Regions from separate parts of the Homo sapiens genome. Here region 1 is linked to region 2. The links are contacts of gene promoters, found by promoter capture Hi-C in blood cells and fetal thymus (Javierre and others, 2016). All regions are on one chromosome and are shown on one strand. Each heading gives the region's core, a stretch centred on a gene start or on the middle of the fragment in contact. The rest is flanking DNA. Distances are from core to core; before and after follow the strand shown.

Region 1 (5,045 bases), core at 2,067-4,566, 77 kb after region 2:
CCTCTCCCGTCCTCACTGGCTCTGTTTCCCTTTGTGCTTTCTGGGAGGCCCCATAGGCAGCCAGTGCCTGCCGGCCTGCCCTTTGGACTCTTGGCATTTTGCTGTTTTCTCAAATTCTCTGGAAGAAAGAGGGAAGGACCTGCTATCTGTAGCCCTCCCACGAACCTGGTAGTGAGGTATGCCTGGATCACTATCCCCATTTCACAGACAAGGAAACAGAGACCAAGGGAGAGTCAGTGACTTACCCAAGGCTACAGAACAAGCAAGTGGCAAAGCTTGAATTTGACCCTGGCACTTCTGCCTCCACCCTGCCTTCTACAGGGTTGAGGGGTTCTGGAAGCAGGAAATCCAGACCCTTACCTGTAGATTTCTTTGGCACCTCAAGATTCCCTGGAAGGAGAGTCCCTCTGTCTGTTGTGTTTGGAGAGAAGCCAATCTAGATATGGAGAGCGAGGCCGGGCGTGGTGGCTTACACCTGTAATCCCAGCACTTTGGGAGGCCAAAACAGGCAGATCACTTGAGGTCAGTAGTTCGAGACCAGCCTGGCCAACATAGTGAAACCCCATCTCTACTAAAAATACAAAAATTAGCCAGGCATGGTGGCACGTACCTGTAATCCCTGCTACTCGGGAGGCTGAGGCAGGAGAATCACTTGAACCCAGGAGGTGGAGTTGCAGTGAGCCGAGATCACACCACTGCATTCCAGCCTGGGTGACAGAGCAAAACTCTGTCTCAAAAAAAAAAAAAAAAAAAAAAAGATATGGAAAGAGGGAGGTTGGAATGCGGGTCCCGGAATGCCCTAGGCTCAAGGACTACCCCCCGCCTTGCTGAGCTCCTCCAGAGATGGGCAGGGGTGCAGAGGACACAGCACAGCCTGGGACCCTTGTTGGACTGAGTGGTGCTAGCACAGCTTGACCCCACACGAGCTCAGAAGAGCTCAGCTGGCCATGAGAAGGCCTGAGCTTGTTTTTCCCAGGTGGACACAACCAAATGGGGCCGATTCTGCCCCGATCACTGCCATCTGGCCATGTCCAGGCTCATATACTCCCACTCCCACGTGAGGACAGGCCAGGGACTCAGCCCGAGAGGGGCCCGGCTAAAAGAGGGATAGCTGGCAAGGCCCTCCCCTAGTGGCAACTCCGAGAGAACACAGACAAGGGCTGGCATCACCACTCCAGCCTCCTTCTCCTTTTCCTCTGCTGGGAGGCCCTGGCTCCCACATCCACACAACTAGCCCCTCACTGCAGGTTCTGTCTTTGCCCAAAGGGCACCTCCTCAGAGAGGCCTTCCCTGTCCCCGCTGTGGTCCCACTGCGGTCCCACTGCCTGCCCTGCGAGGCCTTCCTGCTCTCTGAGAGGATTCGCGCTGTCTCGGCTCACATATTCCGAGTCCTCTTCCGCACTAGAACATACGATTCTTTCAGCCTGCAGCAGGTGCAGTGCCTGCACACAGTGAGTGCTCAGGAAGGATGTTCTGAAGGAAGGCATGAAGGGATACCATGTGTCTGGGTTTGCTCAGCGTTCTTTCTTTTAGAGCCAGGGTCTCACTACATTGCCCACGCTGGTCCCGAACTCCTGGCCTCAAGTGGTCCTCTTGCCTCAGCCTCCTGAGTAGCTGGGATGACCGCTGTGAGCTACCGTTCCTGTGCTCAGTGTTCTTAAGGAGGTTGCTCCCCTTCTCAGGGCACAGGGGTTGAGCAAGGCCATGGCTAAAGCTTCTTCCATTATCTCCTGAGCCTCCCTGTACCCATTAGTTAGTCAATCAACTCATCAAACACTGGTTTCGTGAGCATCTGCTGAGGCAGGCTGAGGTGTAGTGTACGTGCTTAATAATTGCCTGTTGAATGACTAGCTCTTTAGGTGCCCACGCCATAACCAAACGGGTTCTTTGACTAGCGGGTGCCTCTGGCTTCTCCTTGGCTATTTCTTTCTTTCTCCTGAAGGAAACCAGGAGTTGCGCAGACCGGAGGCTCCAGCAGCCAGCCTGCTGCCTGGGGTGGCTCCTTGATCCCTGCTCCCTTGAGGAGGAGGCTGCCCACCCCTCATCTCTGGGCTCGCCCCCTGCAGCCAGGCAGCTCTTGGGCCTCCTGTGCTCTTCCTGTGCTGGCCAGGGCTGGGAGAGTGCAAGGCCAGCTCCTCACTTCCCGGCTTTGCCTTGGGGTCTTGGCAGCGCCTTTCTCTCTGCTCAGCTCCAAAGAGCACACGGGAGCCTGGCTGCCGGCCTGAGAGGAAGCGGCCCAGACAAGTAGCTGGGAGGATGGCGTGCCTGCAGAAGACGCTGAGCCCTGCCTGGGCACACACGTCCAGAGGCCCCCGGCAGCATGCCGGGAGGGCACAGACATACTTAGCGCCTCCCCACTGGGCAACAGCCCCTCCCTGGCGTGCAAGATTCCAGCCAGCAGTCAAGCTCCACCCCCCACAGCCCAGGACAAAGAAGGGCAGCCGCCCCCACCGCCACCTCCACCGGGAGACTTGGCCCAGCTGCACACTCTGCTCCACCCCTGTCTCCTCCAGTCCCATGATGGCATTGCCCCTGTTACCCAGTGGGTGGCCTCCACCTTCCTTCTAAACACAGCACCCACACGTGGCCTGACGCTCAGACATTCCCTCACCACCTCTCTATCAGCCAGACCTGGTGACTCAAGTCGCCACCTAGGGCCGGCCTCAGCCCCCTGCTGCACGCTGCCCCGGAGCAGGACTGGAATCATGATCCTGCCACACAACAGCTGGCTCAGCCAGCTGAGGGTTAGTTTACTCATAAGATGATCATCATAACCGCCTTGGGGCTGTTGTGAGAATTTGTGGGAACTGGACACTCTGGCAGCTCCCAAGGATGGACACATTATTGCATGCAAGCACACACAATCCCACAAGGCCAGAGGTCCCTGGGGTCTCCCTGGCCCCTAAGATTCAGGCTAAATGAACTCCATTTCCACCTGCACCTTGTAAAAAGTTCAATCTCTCCCTGTGAATTGGGAGTGGAAGCCTAAATTTGTATGATCTTTGGTACGGAACTGCTGCCTAGAGCTGCACCATCCAGTACAGCAGCCTCAGGCCATGTGGCTACTGAGCACTTAAGATGTGGCTAGTCCAAACTGAGATGTACCTCAGTGTAATGGTGAAACGATCGGATTTGGGGATACATTAGGTTAAATAAAAGACATTGCTAAAATTAGTTTTACCTGTAGATACTTATTTATTCTTTTGAGATGAGGTCTCATTATGTTGCCCAGGCTGGAGTGCAGTGGCATGACCATAGCTTACTGTTACCTCAAACTCAAGTGATCTTCCTGCCTCAGCCACCAAGTAGCTAGGATTACAGGCACTCACCACCACATCTGGCTAATTTTTGCAATTTTTTTTGTAGAGATAGGGTCTCACTGTGTTGCCCAGGCTGGTCTCAAACTCCTGGCCTCAAGGGATCCTCCTGCATCAGCCTCCCGAGTAGCTAGGACATGCACTACAGCACCAGCCTTTTTATCTTTTTTTTTTTTTTTTTTCAGATGGAGTCTTGCTCCATTGCCCAGGCTGGAGTGCAGTGGCGCTATCCTGGCTCACTGCAACCTCCACCTCCCTGGTTCAAGCAATTTCCCTGCCTCAGCCTCCCGAGTAGCTGGGACTACAGGCGCACACCACCAGGCCCAGCTAATTTTTTTTTTGTATTTTTAGTAGAGACAGGATTTCACCATGTTGGCCAGACTGGTCACAAACTCCTGACCTCAGGCAATACGCCCGCCTCGGCCTCCCAAAGTGCTGGGATTAGAGGCGTGAGCCACCGCCCCCAGCCCTTTTTATCTTTTTTTAAATGGCTGCTAGATCATAAAAAATTACATCCGCACCTTGGGTTGTATCTTTATTGGGCTGTGCTGGTTTCATGGCTCTTCCTGTATCTCCATCCCAGATTAACTCACACCCAGAACTCAGCCCCTTTCCCTGCTTTCTACAGAACACCTGCTCTCCTAGGCCTCCGTGAACTCAGCAGCGAAGCCCTGGCCTGCGGGCAGAGTTTGCCCCACAGCAGTGAATTCATCCAGAACTTGCACGTGTATGTGGCCTCCCTCTCTAAAATGTTTTAGTCCCCATCATGGTTCTCTGTCCCTTCTCATTCAGTACCCCCTTCCCAGTTCCTCCCACTGTCTTTTGCAGAGAAAATCCCACTTTCTCCAGCATTAGCATGTGCCAAACTCACCTCCCTCCTGGCCTTGCCTTGCACATCCTCTGCAAAGGGTTGAAATCTCTGCATGGGGAGGGCCTGCCACCCTCCTGGACAAGACCCCTCCTGCTTCCAGGATCTTGCCTCCCTGACTGTGGACATGCCCTCGGCCTGACTTGATACCCTCTGGAGCGCACACAGGGGAAGGGGACAGGGAGACTCAGCCTTCCCAGCACCAGGGCTCCCACTGGCTGGGGGACTTCAGGAGAGTGGTCTCCTCCCACACCGAGCCCCCACTAATTTTTCCCACACTCCTCTCTGCTCCCCCGCCCCATTCATCCATATCACACAGACAGACCCTCCTATGCCCTCTGTCATGCCCATGTACACATATGTCCCAAATGCCACAGTCCATGTGTTCTCACAGTTCACACAGGGTTGCTTTCACTGCCATACGTGTGGGGAAGCTGCCCTCATCATGCACAGATGCCCGCCCACCCCAACCCACACACATACATGTGTATAGGCCCCTGTGAACACAGATACATTTATTTGTGCACAGGTAGGTGGGCACAGACAGTGAGACACATTCTCATCACCAGGCACCCCCAGGAGACAGAGACCCCTTGGTGGCACTCACCTTGCTCCCTCAGACGCCATCGCAGGCCTCCTCGTGTGGACGCTGGGCTTGACGGCAGCCTCGCATTCTTTCCCACGCGGCCCACGCTCACGCCTGCTCCACACACAGTCTCCTCACCCCAGCCGGCAAGCTTTCTTGCAACCCCTCTCCTCCTCCACCCACCCAGCTCTGTCATTGGAGAAAGTCTGGGAAGCTGAGAGTTAAGGTGCTGGGGAAAAAAAAAAAAAAGGAGGGAAAATCTACTGTATTCCGG
Region 2 (5,292 bases), core at 1,453-3,952:
GAGGCAGGAGAATGGCGTGAACCCGGGAGGCGGAGCTTGCAGTGAGCTGAGATTGTGCCACTGCACTCCAGCCTGGGCGACAGAGCGAGACTCCGTCTCAAAAATGAAAGAAAGAAAGATTCAGCTTAGAGGAGAGCAGGCCGAGGGATTGCTAAAGCATCCCAACGCGCTGAAGAGACAGCCTGCCAAGAATGTTTCCAGAGAGAATGAGCATTGGCTACAGCAAGAGAGACTGAGGTGTGAAGACAAGAAGGACTTCCCGACAGGGTTGAGGTGGCTGCCTGTAAGAGAGTGGAGACCTCTTTCTCCAGGAGCAACAGCCTGCCAGCTGGAATGATGGAGATGGGCAGGTTCTAGGTGCCTGAGAGGAGGGGGGAGACTTTACCAGGGAGCTTGGCAAGAGGGCCTCTAGCCTGAGTTTGATGAGTAAGAAGCAAACCCTCCTTTCTGGAAAACACAAGAGCCCTCGGCAGATGCAGTTATTAGTGGTCATGGTTCATCTGTGGTCATAGAAATGGAGTTTCTACTCAGCTGGGGAGAGGTTCTAGGCAGAGTCACTGGGCAAGGTGAGAATTCCTGGTTCTAAATAAACCTGATACATTTCAACTGGACAGACTTGTGATAGTGGGCCCTGTTTTGGTGGAGACTGGACGGGGAGGGAAAGTCCCAGGTTTGGCCTCAGCATGTGTGACTTTGAAGCTTCATCCTGGGCAAGCCACATGGCATCTCTGAGCCTCAGCTTCCTCATGTGTAAAAGGGGGACCCATTGTGTTTGTAAGGGCCAAAGGCCAGTGCTAGATGTGAAAAGTGTGCAGAACTCTACCAATACAAGGCATATCCCCAGGCTGCCGGGCAGCAACACCTCCAGCCCACAGAGGATGTAATTGTGGTGTGGCTTCTTGGGCAAGGTAGTAATAAATCATGATAATAACAAAAGCAAACACCTCCAAAGGCTGGCTGTGTCCCAGGAGCTGTCCTAAGTGTCTACGCGTATTAACTCATTTCATCTTCGCAACCTTATGAGGTAGTCTTTGCTATCATCCCATTTTCTAGATGAGAAACTGAGGTTCAGAGAGGTGAAGAACCTTATCTGAGATCACCCAGGGACTAGGTGGTGGAATTGGGATTCGAACCCAGCTGTTGGATTTGGAGACTGGATTCTTGAAGGGAAAGGAGGGAGCCTGCACTCTGGGCAGTGATGTGGAGTCAGAGATTTCCAAGTTCATGGTGCAAGTCTGTGGGAGAGCAGAACTCACTTTACAAAATTGTTGACAGCCGGTGTTGTTAGAGACGGAAAGGGACAACCCCGGCTCCTCTCCAGGCGTGGAGTCTGTGGGGATGTGCTTCCAGAAAATGCAGGGTTAAGCAGGAGCTGCAGAGTAGAATCAAATGACAATGACTCACTGCTGTCACTAACAGGCTCTTTGTGGGGGCTGTAGGTGGGAGGCGATATGGCCGGCACCTTCGCACAAACCTCCCTTGCCCGTCAGCAAGGTGTGTGGACCCCATACAGGGGGTGTGGCTTGGGTGCCCAGGACCTGCTAAAGCCACACGAGCTCTCCAAACCCGTCAGCCGCTCCTTGCATGACCGAGCAGGACCGACCACTTACTGCGCATGTACTCGAGGCATCATCTTTTCTGTACACCCAGGCCCATGAGGTGCTTACTCCCATGAACCCCATTTTGCAAATGGGGACCCGAGGGACTCGGTGGCCTCTTTAGGGCACAATCAGCAGCGGAACCCAAACCTGCCTGGCTCAGAGGCTCCGGAGGCGGGACACCGCCACCTCTCCCCCAAGTGCAGCGAGCACCCTCCTCCCCAGCCTTTGCCTTGTTTACACCCTGCTCCCCAGCAGCTGTGGATACGAGTGCACAGGGCACACCCTCGCACACACCCACAGGCATGCACATGCCACATGCACACAATTACACACACTCCCCCGCTGGCTCAGCACCCCCTCTGCTCCCACACAGGGCTGCAGGGCCCTCCTCCCACTCACTCACCCTCTCCTCCCGCCCCCACCGCCCATTATCAGCCCCACACTCTCAGCAAGCCTCCTGGCTTCTGCCTGCATCCACCCCTCCTCCTTCTCATTCCTGGGGCTCTGGACTGGCTCTGGAGCCCTGGAAAGCAGGGTTTGGGTGGATCTCCACATTACCTTGGGCTGGGCTTGGGAGCTCCGGATCTCACCAAGGGACTCCTGGGGGCCTTGATTACTGCAGAGGTCAGCAGGCCCAGAGACCCCAGCCTCCCTGCAGGTCCTGGGGAGGGGTGGGGGCAATGCCTCTCCCGCCTGTTGGTGCCTGTCTGTCACTGCACCACTGCTTCAGGCCTCCCTTATATAAGCCCAGTTCTCTCTCTGGCCTGCAAGGGGTGGGCAGCCCAGAGGCCAGCGCCACTCGTCCCCAATCTCCCTTCTTAGGATCAAGAACCGGCCCAAGGTTGACATTTGGTGCACCAGGCCCCTGAGGGGCTTCAGGGCAAGGCCAGGGACCTCGGGGAAAATCCTCATCCTCTCCCCTCCATTCCAAGAGTAGCCTGGGCCCCTTGCCCTGGAGGAGCCCTGGCCCTGTGAGGGAGGCTGGCAGGCGCTGCCCGCTGTCACTCCATGCCGGTGCCCTTTGCTCCACTTCAGTGGCCACGTGACCAGGCCCCATTCCTGCCCTCTAGGGTTGTTGAGCAGCCACAAAAGGGGTGGTGCCAGCAGCTGGGGCACTCTCCCTAAGTGAGACTGGGACTTTGACCATGCCCACCCCCACCCACTGCCCAGCACAGTCAGGAAGTGGCTTAGCCTCCCAGCTCCCACCCGCTTCATCCCCACCTGCCTCCTGGGAAGGGGCCTCAGGCCCCACTCTGCAGTGGGTCTCCTCCCCCTCCTCTCCCCACCTGCCCCTAGCACTGCCTGTGTGCGGGCCCTCTCTCCCCTAAGAATCATATGAGCATGAAGGTCTATTTTGGGTGCGTTTAGGGAGCAAGGGATTCGGAGCCACATAGGCCTGGATGAGAGAATCTCAGCTCTGTGTGTTAACTTCCTCATCTGTAAAATGGGTCCAGCAGTAGCGCCCACCTCTGGGGTTCTTGTGGAGGTGAAAGTGGGGCAGGAGGGAAGCACAGGGTGGACCTGGCTATTGGTACCCAGTAAATGCCACCATCACCATCAGCAGCGGCATCACCGTCAGGGCCCGTGTTGGCCGTTGGCCACGTGGTGTAGACTTGGAGTCTGCAAGAGCTAGGTTTGAATCCCAACCTGCTGCTTACTATGTGGCCTGGGGCATATCACTAACCTCTCAGTGCTGGTCTCGTTGTCTGCAAAAACAGGGAAATACCTTGTGCTCATCAAGGCTGTTGGCAGATGAGAGACCCTGTGTGGGACTCGGCACAAGTGGGTGTTAGTGGTCGCTATGTTCTTCTCCAGGGAGACAGGTGAGGTCTTAGGAGTGCCAGCCTGATTGTCTGCTGGGGTGGCAGGGATGGTGATGGGGGCTGAGAGAAAGGCTGATCTTTTCTGCTGTTGGGGCCCCCAGCCCCATCAGCAGCCACAGCTCCTCCTATCGGGCTCTGTGCAGAGCTCTGGGTAGGGAGGGGTGGGCGGTGAGCTCTGGGCCTGAGACAGCCCCCTTCGTGTGGCAGTGGGGCAGGTCTCCAGGGCACAGGGGCTCCAACATGCTGTGATTCAGAGCCTACAAGCAGTGGGAGAGTATCAGATGCTGCCTGGGGGCTCAGAGGATGCATGCAGCTGTTGACAGTGTTTGAGCCACCAGCCATAATAAGAGCAAGCATTAGAGAGTGCTCACTATGTGCTAGGCACTGTGCTAATCATCACATGGAATTCTCACCACAAAGCAGTCATAAATAGATATAACAATCCCCATTTTCCTAATGAGCAAACTCAGGCCCAGAGAGGTTCCATGACTTACCCAGAGCCACACAGCTCCAAGTGCTTAAAGAGCCAGGTCTGGGTCCAGAGCTGGTTCTTTCACTCTCTTCTCTGTCAGGCAAGAGCGAGAAGAGCAGCAATACTAGGTTTAAGGGGAAGGGCATTCCTAGCAGAGGGCACTGTGTGAACAGAAGCGTGGAGGTGAGAGTCGAGCAGAATCAGCACTCTGGAGTGGCAAGAGCGCTGGAGACTCGGGGGCTTCATCATCCCACTTACTAGCTATGGGGCTGCTTACGCCTCCCTGGGGGAGGCTGTGCGTGGGGCTGATTCCTGCCTGTCTGCCTGTTACAGGTTACAGTGAAGGCCAGAGCACTGTGGACATGGGAATGAGTCCTCGTGTGGAGGGGCCTTTTCTAGAAATACTGTTGGGCCCCTGGGGCCCTTGGCACTGCAGGGCTCTAGGTAGCGCCCCCCCTTCCTCCTGGTTATAAGTGTTTCTGCCAGAGAGAGGCTCTTCCTGCCTTCCCCAAAGGAACAAGCCACAGACTGGACATGTTAGCAGGGAAACAGGTCATGGCTCCCCAGGGCACGGGGCACAGTGGCTCCAGCTTGGTACCATCTGCCACCACAGGTGGACCTGACTCCCTTGCAGAAGGAGGCCTGCTGCTGTCCCTGAGTTCAGGGCTTATTTTTTGGGGGGACAGAGTCTTGCTCTGTCACCCAGGCTGGAGTGCAATAGAGCGATCTCGGCTCACTGCAACCATTGCCTCCCAGGTTCAAGCGATTCTCCTACCTCAGCCTCCCGAGTAGCTGGGATTACAGGCGTGCACCACCATGCCCAGCTAATTTTTGCATGTTTAGTAGAGACAGGTTTTTGCCATGTTGGCCAGGCTGGTCTTGAACTCCTGACCTCAGGTGATTCGCCCACCTCAGCCTCCCAGAGTGCTGGGATTACAGGTGTGAGCCACCACACCTGGCTAAGTTCAGGGATTCTTGATGCTCCTTTTAGAGCATCAAGCTCTTCTCTTAGCCCAGGGAAAACTGGCCTCCCCATCAGGCCTGTAGATGGGAGGAGGTGGCAGGGCATCACCCACTGCTACCTGGCCTTTTGCAGTAGAGTGAGCTTCTCTGGACTCTCCATGGGCCCCAGCCCCACCTGGGGACAGAGCCAGGCACGCCCACCCCACCTTTGGGTCCTTCCCACCTGCCATTTTAGAATCCACTTGCCGAGGCAGGTGCCTGGCCCAGATCACCCCAGCTCAGGGGTCACTCTGGGAGGCCCCGTGCTGTCTCCTCTGCCGGGGGTCACTCCAGGAGGCCCTGTGCTGGCCCTTCTGCCATTGTGCCCACTGGATGCAACAACACCCCGGCGGGGAGAAACATTAGGAGCTGTTTCCACACTGGGGCTCAGAGA

The links. The method cuts DNA at HindIII sites, captures the fragments that hold promoters and counts their contacts. A CHiCAGO score of 5 or more calls a contact.
Region 1: a contact is called between a fragment that was not itself captured here and the fragment with the promoter of PDK2-AS1 in region 2, in 1 of 17 cell types (endothelial precursors). The highest score is 5.7, in endothelial precursors.

Annotation. Positions count from the first base shown.
Region 1 is chr17:50,175,918-50,180,962 of GRCh38, forward strand. SGCA (sarcoglycan alpha) reads left to right here. Exons shown (of 10, transcript NM_000023.4): 10 at 1-11. Among named protein-coding and RNA genes, the nearest start is that of SGCA, 12 kb to the left of the region's middle. RefSeq lists an enhancer at 1-125. The HindIII fragment of the contact is 3,208 bases long and covers 1,713-4,920 here.
Region 2 is chr17:50,099,694-50,104,985 of GRCh38, forward strand. It overlaps PDK2-AS1 (PDK2 antisense RNA 1), which reads right to left and starts at 2,703. Exons shown (of 2, transcript XR_007065842.1): 1 at 2,160-2,703; 2 at 1-1,372. All of the region lies in intron 2 of PDK2 (pyruvate dehydrogenase kinase 2), which reads left to right. RefSeq lists an enhancer at 1,311-1,920. The HindIII fragment of the contact is 6,546 bases long and covers 698-5,292 here.